Regions from separate parts of the Homo sapiens genome. Here all the other regions are linked to region 1. The links are contacts of gene promoters, found by promoter capture Hi-C in blood cells and fetal thymus (Javierre and others, 2016). All regions are on one chromosome and are shown on one strand. The core of a region is centred on a gene start or on the middle of the fragment in contact, and the rest is flanking DNA. Distances in the headings are between cores, read along the strand shown.

The links. Contacts are between HindIII fragments. The CHiCAGO score rates a contact against its expected background, and 5 or more counts as called.
Region 2: a contact is called between a fragment that was not itself captured here and the fragment with the promoter of PMPCB in region 1, in 5 of 17 cell types (total B cells, monocytes, activated CD4 T cells and 2 more). The highest score is 9.2, in total B cells.
Region 3: a contact is called between a fragment that was not itself captured here and the fragment with the promoter of PMPCB in region 1, in 1 of 17 cell types (non-activated CD4 T cells). The highest score is 5.2, in non-activated CD4 T cells.
Region 4: a contact is called between a fragment that was not itself captured here and the fragment with the promoter of PMPCB in region 1, in 1 of 17 cell types (total CD8 T cells). The highest score is 5.6, in total CD8 T cells.

The regions. Positions count from the first base shown.
Region 1 is chr7:103,295,790-103,298,724 of GRCh38, reverse strand. It overlaps PMPCB (peptidase, mitochondrial processing subunit beta), which reads right to left and starts at 1,290. Exons shown (of 13, transcript NM_004279.3): 1 at 1,167-1,290; 2 at 17-157. The coding sequence starts at 1,265. RefSeq lists enhancers at 1,036-1,335, 1,436-1,495. The HindIII fragment of the contact is 11,349 bases long and covers 1-2,935 here.
Region 2 is chr7:105,531,839-105,535,218 of GRCh38, reverse strand. It overlaps RINT1 (RAD50 interactor 1), which reads right to left and starts at 3,018. Exons shown (of 15, transcript NM_021930.6): 1 at 2,862-3,018; 2 at 2,350-2,395. The coding sequence starts at 2,903. RefSeq lists enhancers at 2,246-2,822, 2,668-2,847, 2,938-3,237, 2,823-3,380. The HindIII fragment of the contact is 2,763 bases long and covers 2-2,764 here.
Region 3 is chr7:105,549,797-105,552,778 of GRCh38, reverse strand. RINT1 (RAD50 interactor 1) reads right to left here. Exons shown (of 15, transcript NM_021930.6): 8 at 2,614-2,724; 9 at 2,293-2,518; 10 at 1,072-1,209. Among named protein-coding and RNA genes, the nearest start is that of RINT1, 19 kb to the right of the region's middle. The HindIII fragment of the contact is 7,987 bases long and covers 1-2,982 here.
Region 4 is chr7:105,367,704-105,371,124 of GRCh38, reverse strand. All of the region lies in intron 2 of SRPK2 (SRSF protein kinase 2), which reads left to right. Among named protein-coding and RNA genes, the nearest start is that of SRPK2, 20 kb to the left of the region's middle. The HindIII fragment of the contact is 2,924 bases long and covers 182-3,105 here.

The DNA.
Region 1 (2,935 bases), core at 41-2,540:
TGCCTGAGTCACTTACTGTGCATGTTGAGAGCCCAGAGTCTTCCGAAGCTACTCTGAGTCCACTTTCTAAACATGTTACTCTTGTTTCAGGAACATTCAGAACAACTTGGGTAGCAGCCTGTGTACTTCTTAATCTGTTCTCTCCAAAATATAATGACTGGTTGGGGGTAGGAAGTGGAAGAGACAAAGCAAAACACATTACTAATCTGATATTAAATGTTGCTTTTAAAACCAAATCTATTTTAAATAGGCTGTCTCTATAAAAGAATCTTTCTTCTTGAATTTTGGTTCCACTGAGATCTCTGCCTGGCCTAGAAACATCTGTCACCAGCCACTGTCCTAAAGCCAGCAACGTGTTTATAAACATGCCCTTCCCTCAGGGAAGATGAGCAATTATTATCATTACCCAGAGAGAAATTGACTTTATTTCACTACCTCTCCTAGAAATGTTTTATATTCATTATGGAGAAAACAAGCAGGAAAAAAAAAAAGAGAGGGAAACTATGTAAAACTACCTACACACAAGACAAAACTGACACTCGGGTTTTCATTGTTCAAGAAAAGCAACAGGGTTTGGAAATGGTTAAAAAAAAAAAGAGAGAGAGGATAGGAAGATGGGTCGATGTTCAAAATGCAAATGACTGGCTTTTCGGCCAGAAACTATTCGCCTTTCAGCAGTTTTTCTTTGCCCTTATACAAAAGTCTCACATCCCTTTGCTTAAAGTCAGAGGCTCTCTCATGAGAAAAATGCAAATACATAAAAAATTTTACTTCATTGATGTCCAGGTTCGCGGGAAGCCCAGCTGAGGACGAAGTTCAGTCTTAGGCAAAAATAGAACTCTGGAGCGGTACCCATTTCACTTTTTAGTTTTCCCCAATTTGCAAGCACTACGTTTTTAGTGGTCAAACATGCACTCCTCAGTAGCTGGCGGGAGGAGCCGAAAACCAGGGTCATCCCACACGTCACTAGCAGGTCTCCTGGCGGGTGGCCACAAGCCAGTCACCCCCGGCCAGTTCAGCAGCCCCAGGCCGCCTGGCGCCCGGCGGGTCCGGGTCGAGGAGGCCCTGCCCGACCCACTGTTCGGATCTGTGGCGCCGACTCTCAGGTGCGCTGCGCCGGGTCTGGCGAGATCTCGAGGACAGGACCGGCCTGGAGGGAAGCTCACCCGTCCCGCAGCGCCTCGGATTAGAAGACTCTCGCTGAAACCCCAGAGCCGCCGCCGCGCCGCGGATGACAACACCACTCGAGCCGCCGCAGCCGCCATTTCTGCTAGAAGGAAGGTAGAGGATGAAGGATGTGCTTCCGGGGTCGCGACCTGAGGTCCCAGAGCAGGGAGGTGGGCTCCACCTTGTGGCCGTGATGGGAATGACACTCCTCGAAGCGGTTGTGAAAGCAATCAGGGCCCGACCATGATGCTGAGCGGTCTTTACCAAATGAATTGGGGAGTCTGCAGAAGCCCCTTTATCATCAGTTATTTTATCGATCGCCTACTAAGTGCAAGGCACAAATGCGGTGGAATGAAAGGTAACCTGATGCAATATATCTCACTGGTGGATGGAATTGATTGAAAACAGTGGAATAATATTCATAAGTCACTGCCTTTAAAGGAAAAGTCTAGTGGGAGAGACAGATGCCGTGAGGGGAGGAAACGATGTATCCGTGTTGACCACTATCCACTCTTCGAACCTCTACAATATGGCTCATCTCATTCCATAGAAATTGCCCTTGGTAAGGTCACTAATTGCTAAAAGTTGGACACTTTACAGACTTATGTTACAGTCCTGTTGGAGGATTTGACATTGTTGGCTTCTTTGAAATTCTCTTTTCTCAATATATTCTAGAGCTCCACCTCCTCATAGTTCCCTCTGCACCTTCTTGGACTCCTCTTTATTCACAGATCTGTTTTTTGTTTTTGTTTTTGTTTTTGAGATGGAGTTTCACTCTTGTTGCCCAGGCTGGAGTGCAGTGGTGCAATCTCAGCTCACTGCAACCTCTGCCTCCTGGGTTCAAGCAATTCTCCTGCCTCAGCCTCCCAGGTAGCTGGGATTACAGGCATGTGCCACCACGCCTGGCTACTTTGTATTTTTAGTAGAGATGGGGTTTCACCATATTGGTCAGGCTGGTTTTGAACTCCTAACCTCAGGTAATCCACCCACCTCCACCTCCCAAAGTGCTAGGATTACAGGCGTGAGCCACTGCGCCCAGCCCACAGATCTCTCAAGGAACTAAAAATTGCAAATGCTTTTCTAACTCAGGTAGATGGTATAGTGCTTATTTTGCAATTAAGACACTGAAGTCAAATAACTTGCCCCAGGTTACCCTGCTAGTAATAGGTTAACGCCAAAGACTGTGCTGTGAAACACTACATTTTGCCCTAAAAGTTGGTGTTTGCCAGGACTCTAAGCCTCTTCTACTGAACATTCTCCCTCTGGGTTTTTCCCTCCACTTCAAGACCTGTCTGCCCAACCCAGGCCTTTCTCTTGAGCTCCAGCCCACTTAACCATCAACTACTAGGAAACTACACTTGAATACCCCATTGGAAACTCAATATCAACTTGTCCAAAAGGGAATTCACTGTGTCCCCTGAATCTCTTCCCATATTTGCAATGCCAAACAGCCAATCATACCTACATTTGCCCAAAACTCCAAACCACCCAGAAGCTCCTCTCTTTTTCCATCTTCCACATTCAATTGATACACCCCTTTCCTGCCTCTTCAATCTACTCCAGGCCCATTGTCAGTTTTTTCACATTACTACCTATAGGATCTTTTACAAATGAAACTGTTACGGCAGTCCCATTATGAAGAATCCATCAGGGAGCCCTTGGTCACAATAAAGTAAAGGGTCCTTAGCATGGCAGGTGGGGCCCTTCATGATCTGACTCCCATTTATCTTTCCAGACTCATCTCCCTCCACCTACCCGGCTGCTATGC
Region 2 (3,380 bases), core at 134-2,633, 2.2 Mb before region 1:
TTCAAATGTCATCGATGTCATTGTACAAAGATATCTTTGTCAGAAACAGAAAAAAGAAAATATGAGAGAACAAATTACTAGGAAAAAATCAAAATGACAAATGCAACCACTAAATAGTATAAAGTGAGATTCTTTCCATGGCAAATAAACTACCTGTTTTGTGACATTTAATAAGTCCAATACACATTAGGCTTATTAATATTAATATCTAAATAATGATATGCCTAAGTGCAAAATGTAAATGTCAGATATTGGTCAACTATTTATGTAAAGATTAACAGAATATATACCAATGTTTTATACAGAGTATGTTCCTGTCTCCACCCCTACACCCCAACAAACAAAATTTCCTTTGTTCTACTTAACTTATATGAATTAAATTAAAAGATTTTTCACATGCTGTGAGAATCAGGAGGTGGTACTGACCTTTTCCCCCTTTCCTGTTCAGTGCAAGATCCAGAACCCAAGCTATACATTGTGCCTTCCCAGAGCAATTTTAAATTGACAATTTAGAGGGTAGGAGAGGCAATATTAACATAACACTATGCCTCAATTTTCCAACTAGAAAACAAATTGTAACATTTGCCCCAGCCTATATCTCAAGGTTATAAATGGGACTATATAATACAAATTATATATTAATTATACTATATAATTATATATAATATTAACGTATAATAATCTACTATTATGTACAGAACTCACAATGCCTTTTTTAAATCTTAAATAAAACAAGTGATTTGTGTGGTGTATCTGCAGATAAATGGAGGCAGGAAATGTTTTGTGAATGCTAAAGTTGCTGTATCTTAGGGAGGAAATTCTACCTTCATTTTTTAAAAAAAATTACACCCACTGAGCACAGTGGCTCATGCCTATAATCCCAGCACTTTGGAAGGCCGAGGACGGTGGATTGCCTGAGGTCAGGAGTTCAAGACCAGCCTAACCAAAATGGTGAAACCCTGCCTCTACTAAAAATACAAAAATTAGCCGGGTGTTTGGCGGGCACCAGTAATCCCAGCTACTGAGGAGGCCGAGGCAGGGGAATTACTTGAACTCAGAGGCGGAGCTTGCAGTAAGGCGAGATCGCGCCACTGCACTCCAGCCTGAGAGACAGAGTGAGACTAAGTCTCAAAAAAAAAAAAAATTACACCCTTGATGTGTAACCATTCAAATGTGGCATAGTACATTCTTAGTGAAATGACATTCTTCAAAATGACACACCGGTGGTTTGGGAGGTTTTTATGTGTCTCCTTTTCTATTTTTTGTAAAGAGCACTCCTAACTGCAAAGCAGTTTGAGCTGTGGAAAGAGGAACAAGGTCAAAGTCCTTGATATGATAGTCTACATCTATTATTTTATTAAAATGACAGCTCAGTAGGCATCAGACTACTTTCCAGGCATCTGAATGAGGCAAAGGTGGAAAATGGAAAGGGAAGGGTTTAACTGAGAGATACAAGGCACTCTGAAATCCTTCAAGAAAAAGGAGCTGAGATGTGGCAGTTATGACAGTCATGTGCTATGGACTGCTCAGAGCCTTCTTTCTGAGGCAGATTCTATCAGCCGCTAATGTTAAGGGCAAATCTTACTCCTAAGGGCCATGTGCTAATGTGGGCACCGTTTTTCTTACTGCTACACATTCCCAACTGTTTGCCACAGTCAAAAGAACCAAAAATCCCAATAGCAGAGCTATCACATGCTTTTCCCCTTCCTCTCCCAAAAAATGTCACTTCAAAGGTCCCTAAAGAGCCCTTGATTTGCAATAACCTGCCATCAAAGTAAAATGGCAAAAGTCCACAACCCTGACATATACTCCCGTACTAGGGAGGAAATGGTGGTACTGACCTTTTCCCCCTTTCCTGTCCAGTCCAAGATCCAGAACCCAAGTTATCCGTTGTGCTCTTGCCAGAGCAATTTTAAATTGCCAATTTACTGAAGGTGAACTAAACAACTGTCATTTGCCTCCTTTGAACCCAATTAGGGTGGTGGTCGTCTGTCCTAGATCATGGGCCCCTCCAAATTCCTGATGCTTAGTAAGTTGATGTTTCATTAAAATGACAGGCAGGCCCCAATTATTCTGAGTACTGTATGATAGGCAGACTTCCAGCGAAAACACTCTAGTCCCTGTACTAGGTATGGATCGGGAAGTGCTCTTCTCCAAAGCATCCCATATTTTACAATTTTAGAAAGACAAAAATATGTGTATCATGGTCATCAGTATTACCATATAAGCATATTGTGCAGAAAACGGTACTGCATCTAAAAGATAGGCAAAGAACCTTTCTATATTGCAGACCCTGGAAGGCTGAGTTTGGGCGGGAAGAAAAAGCTAAGGTGTTTGGAGCTGGCTTACTTTTCTCCTCGAGGTTCTTCCTTTCGTCACCACTTTCAGAGCAGCACTAGAAGAAGAACAGATGTGACAAGCACATTAAGATTAAAGTCGTGGATGGAAAGCATACGGGGCTCCCAAAGGGCACCCACTGGAGGCAAGAGAGGTTCCAGACGCTCTCCCACTTTCTGAGCGACCAGGGCCGTCCGAATCAGGTACCTCAAAGTGCCACTGTCCTGGTGCCACCGCCACCTTCCCAGGAGGTGTGTGTCACCTCCGCAGGACCTGGAGTTACCTTGCCTGCTCACTAGAGCCACCTCCCTAGAGAAATCTGTCATCTCACCAGGGCCGCCAAAGCCACTTCACGGGGACTACCGCCTCCTCTAGGAGGTCTTACAAGGGCCTCTAATCTAAGCCGCAGGAAGCACCTTCACAAGCTTACAGGGCCACCGCACCGGGACTATCTCCCCCGGGAGGTCTGTGCCACCTCAATGGGCCACCAATGTCCCCTCCCAGGGACGCCAGGGCCGTCTCACCGGGGCTGCAGGAGAGGCGCCGATCTCGCCGGCTGGTAGCATCTCGCCTCCGCGCGAGTCCTCGGCTCCATTCGCAGCCAGCGTGGCCTGTGGAGTCTGGCTAAGGCCAGCGACACACTCACTACCCAGCCTCGGAGGCCGTAGGACTGAGTGCCACAGCGACTTCCTCTCGATGTCTCACTGGTTTCTTCCTCTCAGCCCAGAGAGGCCCTGCCCGTGCAGCCGCCGGCCGTGCTCTGTTCCTCCCCCTCCTGACCGGAGGTCGGAACGGCCACTCAGGAAGCGGGCACCCTCCCCTATGGAGCTCCAGAGAAGGGATTCGCTCACTCCACCGCGGTAAAAGTCCCCTCCACTTTATTGAAGCTCTTAATGATGGAACTTTAAGATATCCCTCTCCCAACGCCTTAAATTCAATATGAATAATTTAAATTTATATTTTAGGCAATATCCAGATGTTCTGAGAGTGTGGGGGGCTTGTTGACTAGGAGCTTCGGTGCAGGGTTATTTGGTTCGAATATT
Region 3 (2,982 bases), core at 463-2,962, 2.3 Mb before region 1:
TTGCTTGATCCTGGGCAGCAGAGGTTGCAGTGAGCCGAGATCATGCCACTGCACTCCAGCCTGGGTGACAGAGTGAGACTCCATCTCAAAAAAAAAAAAAAAAAAAAAAAAAGGAATTATTTACTGACTGGGCTGGAATGATACTTCTTCAGGTTACCAGACAAGCCTAAGAAACGGACAGGCTAGTGGTTGACGAAGGTGAAGAGGGCCAGGGATGGTGGCAATGAGGGTCCAGTGGCACCTGGACAACAAGCAGGCCCACAAGGGGGCAACGTGATTGGCTAAAGACCAACCAGGGCCAGAGGATGCTAGGCTACCCTCCAGCCAGAGAATCCCTGCACTGTAACAAAAGTTCCTATTACTACTCCAATCCTTAAAATTACTTCATTATTTTACTCTCTTCTGCAATCTTTGATAAATCAAGATCAAGACAATATTTAAAATATAGGCCAATCACCATTTACTGAAGACACCTAAAAAGCCCAATAGCAAGACAGTTTGGATAATAAAATTAAATTCCTATTTAATTGTTTTTGTGTAATTATTCAGGAAGTTTTCCTTCATGTATACCAATGTTTAAATCCTTAAATTATTAAAAACCCAAAAGTTAGAATATTGTGTTAGATTTCTACCAATATAGAAACTGAATTTGAAGATAACAACCATCATATAATATTAATTTGCTGAGCCACTTATTTATTGATTACTTTATTGACAGGGTCTCACTCTGTCACCAAGGCTGGACTGCAGTGGCGTGATCATGGCTCACTGCAACCTCTACCTCCCATGCTCAAAAAATCCTCCCACCTCAGCCTCCCAAGTAGCTGGGACTACAGGCACACACCACCACAACTGGCTAATTTCTGTATTTTTTCGGAAGAGAGGGCATTTCACCATGTACCCCAGGCTGTTCTCGAACTCCTGGGCTCAAGCAACCTGCCCGTCTCAGCCTCTCAAAGTGCTAGGATTACAGGCATGAGCCACTGCACCCAGCCTACTGAGCTACTTTAAAAACTACCACGTGAAAACAGTACTTTTAAAACAAAGTCATATCTTAAAAGACATACTTACCAGTTATAACCAAGAGTAGAGTCATAAAAGTTTCTGCACAATCTGGAACTTTCATTTCATCCACGTCAGTGATATCCTTATATTGCGATACCCAGGCAGCTTCTGAGGAAAGCATTGAGTCCATTTTTTGAAGAGCAACTGATAAGCAGACAAAACAATTATGTCAATTAAGTAGTTACAGTCGTTCCTAATTATTCAACTTGTAATTTTTTAGGAATGATGGCTTTTCTATAAAAAAGAAACAAACCTACAATATCCCACTGGTTGTACTAAATTTAACTTAATTAATGCTTTAAACAGGATACTTTACTCCCATCCCCAAATTCTGAAAATAGTTATGTTGACTAGATAAGCTACAGTAAAAAATATTCTATTGGCCAGGCACGGTGGCTCACACCAGTAATCCCAGCACTCCAGGAGGCCAAGGTGGGTGGATTGCTTGAGTCTAGGAGTTCACAACCAGCTTGGGCAAAACCCCAGGGAAACCCCATCTCTACAAAAAATACAAAAAGTAGCCAGGCATGGCTTGCATATACCTATACTCCCAGCTACTGGGGTGGCTGAGGCAGGAGGATCACCTGAGCCCCAGAGGTCGAGGCTGCAGTAAGCCATGATCGGCCCACTCCACTCTAGCCTCGGTGACAAAGTGAGACCCTATCTCAAAAATAAAAAAATAAAATATTCTGACACTTTGGGAGGCCAAGGCAGGTGGATTACTTGAAGTCAGGAGTTCCAGACCAGCCTGGCCAACATGTTGTAACCCTGTCACTCCTAAAAACAGAAAAATTAGCCAGGCGTGGTAGTGCGTGCCTGTAATCCTAACTACTCGGGAGGCTGAGACAGGAGAATCGCTTGAACGCAGGGGGTGGAGGTTGCAATGAGCTGAGATCAAACTACTGCACTTTAGCCTGGACAACAGAGCAAGAGTCTGTCCCAAAATAAATAAATAAAAATAAAATAAATTATATGATAAAATCTATAAAACAAACACCCCACTGGCTTGACTATTCCACTCTAGAAATATGTAGAGTGTAATTTCAGGAAAAATGGAAGTTTCATGTGAAGTAAAGAAAAGATTATCTCTGAAGGAAACAGAAAACCCTGAAAAGGAAATTTCAAATGGCTCTAGTTCCTATTTAGAACTGGAGAAGAAAAATATCAAAAATGTATACCCACAGAAACAGACATATCTCCCTACCATCTGGCCACATCAGCACTTACATTTTCTCTCCACCGTCAACCATCTCTGAAAACAGGTTTCCTCTGATAGAATATGCATACAACTAGCAAAAGTGCCAGGATAGCCATGAACACTGTGTAGCTCCCTTTCAAACAAGAGTACTTCATCCACCAAATGACAGAAGAGATTGTCATCATATAGCAGACAAGGAATATCAGTGGCTAACTTCTCAAGAACCAGCATCATAAGGCCCCGAGAAAATTCAAGCTAAAAAAATACACAAACATGAGGTATGTAAATAAAAAGTTATCCATGCACACATACAGTTCTAAAACAGAAACACTTATGACTGAGTCTCTTACCCTTGCGTTTACCAAAGAGCCTACTTTGTCTAATATTGGCTGAATCTTCTCATCCAGAAATTCAGTATGGTTTCCAATCCACATAAGTACTTGAGCCAAGTACCATTCTGGCTAAGGAAGGAGGAAAATAGTTTGAATTCTTAAGTCATTCCAATTAGAAAGTTACAATTACATGGTTCTATTTAATTGTATATGCACAACACTTATAAAAATTAGTTGAAAATTCCTGTATGTAAGAGCACAATTTCTACTCCAAATTTTAAACTCCTGCAAGGCTTAATAATCAAATGTTTGCTAATGTACTCCCAACAAATTTCAATAATATGACTTAAGTCAATAAACTCATAAATTTACAATGCCATATATATT
Region 4 (3,421 bases), core at 394-2,893, 2.1 Mb before region 1:
ATCGAAACTACTTTTTTGAGGGATACTGTTTGAGAAAATACCTTGACTTACATTTGGGCATATATAATACTTTATGTTGAATTCTTAGCCTCACTAGATAAATCCTACAAAATGTATATGTCCATGTTTTGTTACTGATGTTTGAATTACGCTCCACATAGACATCTTTCTAGTTAAAGCTTTGCTAGTAAGTTTAAAATTAATAATCCGGCCGGGCGCAGTAGATCATGCCTGTAATCCTAGCACTTTCAGAGGCCTAAGCGGGTGGATTGCCTGAGGTCAGGAGTTCAAGACCAGCCTGGGCAACATGGTAAAACCCTGTCTCTACTAAAATACAAAAAATTAGTCAGGCTTGATGGTGCACGCCTATAGTCCCAGCTACTTGGGAGGGTAAGGCATGAGAATCATTTGAACCTGGGAGGCAGAGGTTGCAGTGAGCCGAGATGGTGCCACTGCACTCCAGCCTGGGGTGCAGAGCGAGAGTCTGTCTCAAAAAAAAAAAAAAAAAGAAAGAAAAAAAATTAATTAAAAAAATTGGCTTGTCAGTTCCAGAGTGCATTGTTTCAGGCATCTCTTTGAAACATTATTAATGTAAATATTTTTCGGCATTATAATTTTCAAATCAGTCTTAGAATATGGAGCCTAAAAGGATAGGAATAAGAAGGAGCATCTAGATGACATGATTGAATGCATTAAACTTGGGTATGTTGTAACATACAACTGTCATTCAACTTTGTGAACATATAGTGTGGGTACCTGTATCCCCCAAACTCCTGAAATTTAGATGTGTCTCTGGATGGACTGTGTGTGTTGGGCAGGTTTAGTAGATAGGGTGGGAGAAAGGGTAAGGAAAGACTGTAAGCTAGGAATAAACATCCCCAGGAAGCCGAAGTTTCATTGAGATGTAGTAGAGATAAGATGGATAATTTACTTAAAAGAAATTCCTGGCACTTGGCAGTCCTACTTTTGTGGCTGGGTGCTTCATTTGGTCACCAGGTGCTGTCATTACTTCTAACATCCAGGGTACAAAGGTTGCCACTGTGTTTGATGCCAGCTAGCTACTTTGGTCACTTTTGTTGTTGTTGTTGTTGTTGTTTGAGATGGAGTCTTGCTCTTGTTGCCCAGGCTGGAGTGCAATGACGTGATCTTGGCTCACTGCAACCTCTGCTTCCCGGGTTCAAGCGATTCTCCTGCCTCAGCCTCCTGAGTAGCTGGGATTACAGGCATGCGCCACCACGCCTGGCTAATTTTGTATTTTTAGTAGAGACGGGGTTTCTCCGTGTTGGTCAGGCTGGTCTCGAACTCCTGACCTCAGGCGATCCGCCTGCTTCATCTTCCCAAAGTACTGGGATTACAGGGGTGAGCCACTGTGCCCGGCCTTCAGTCACTTTTATGGGGAATCTTATCCTGTTGATTATTTTTATTTCTAGAATATCCTATTGATAGTTTTTTGGGGGGATTGGGCATGATGTATTTTATCCTAAAATAAGATGTTACTGAATGTTAATTGCAGAATTAATGTAAAATTGACTACATCTTTCACAGATGAAATACATCGTGTATAGCTGTGGGTCTGAAAATGTGTGGAGTGGCCTGGACTTTACAGAGCACCTGGATCAATGTTTTTCAGCCTTACTTTGTAGTAGCAGAATGCTTTGTGAAATAAAATCTTGTGTAGGCCGGGCACAGTGGCTCATGCCTGTATTCTCAACACTTTGAGAGGCCAAGGTGGGTGAATCACTTGAGGTCAGGAGTTCGATACCAGCCTGGCCAGCGTGATGAAGCCCTGTCTGTAGTAAAAATACAAAAAATTAGCTGGGCCTGGTTGCATGCTCCTGTAATCTCAGCTACTCGGGAGGCTGAGGCAGGAGAATTGCTTGAACCCAGCAGGTGGAGGTGGCAGTGAGCTGAGATTGTGCCATTTCACTGCAGCCTGGGCAACAGAGTGAGACTCTATCTCGAATAATAATAATAATAATAATAATAATAATAATAATAAAATAAATCTTGTGTAGAACTCTATTATGTATAAAGCGGAAAAGGTGGCTCTACTCTGAGAGAATTGGCAGGTGAGAGCTTGGTCCTTGCCGCCTGGCCTTCCCCTTGTCCATTGGGGTGCTCCCCAAGGCAGCTTTGAAGAACACAGTTTGAAGTCCATTGCCCTAAACCATTCCATGTTTTCACTGAGGGAAAAATGAAGGACTGAAGGAGCCTGAGTCTTTTTTTTTTTTTTTTTTTTTGAGATAGAGTTTCGCTTTGTCACCTAGGTTGGAGTGCAGTGGCACGATCTCAGCTCACTCCTACCTCTGCCTCCCGGGTTCAAGCGATTCTCATGCTTCAGCCTCCTGAATAGATGGGATTACAGGCATGCGCCACCATGCCTGGCTAATTTTTTGTATTTTTAGTAGAGACGGGGTTTCATCATGTTGGCAGGCTGGTCTTGAACTCCTTACCTCAAGTGATCCACCAACCCTGGCCTCCTTAAGTGCTGGGATTACAGGCTTGAGCCGCCGTGGCCAGCAGAGCGTGGCTCTTGATGAAAGTCACTTATCTTTTTAGTGCCTTAGCCAGTTTAGAATGCTGGATTAGAGCCCTGGATGCTGATTCAGTGGTCTTTTGTACTACCATTAAGCTGCAGGATGACAAGCCCTTCTGGGACTGATACAGAAAATAGTTTCTAGTCCTCAAAGAGAGATTATTGTAAGAACCTTACTTTTAACTCCTTCCTTTGCTGGGAGGAAAAGTAAAAAGTAAAAATTTTTTTTCTCTGAAGAGACCCTTAACAGGTCACATGGACCTGCACGGTTTTATCATGTGCATCTATGAGAGTGGGATGGAAGATGCTTTATATAGAAAATCTTAGAATACAGGAAAACAGTTTTTCTAAAAAAGCAATAAGGCCATGTTTTTTACTTTAGCTTTAAAAACTTTTTTTATTTTATTTTTCAGTAGCTACAAGGTTGTCTTTAAATATTCTTTATAGTAACTAACACCCTGTAGGCATGACCAGTAATAGAAATAATTTCCTCTTTTCCTTGGCTCCACTGATGCCCACTGCCTCTTCTTTGTGATCAGTTAAATGTACACTTTAGATGATTCTAAGCTTTGTAACTGTACTCTCCTTAAGTTTTAAATCCCATTACTGAAAAGCGTATACAGTTTGGCTATCAACAACATGTGTTTGTCCTGTGGAAATTTTTTTCAATAAATATATTGGTAAATTTTTTGGAGATTTTCTGCAGTTTGAAAAAACTTGAACTATGTACCCTAGAAATATTTAAAAACATTAAAAAGGTATGTCATGAATGCTTAAAATATTTGTAGATGCTAGCCTGTTTTATCATTTACCAACATGAAATGTACACAAAATGTGTGTGTACAGACTGTACACGGCACTATTTGCAGTCAAGAGAAGTGCAAA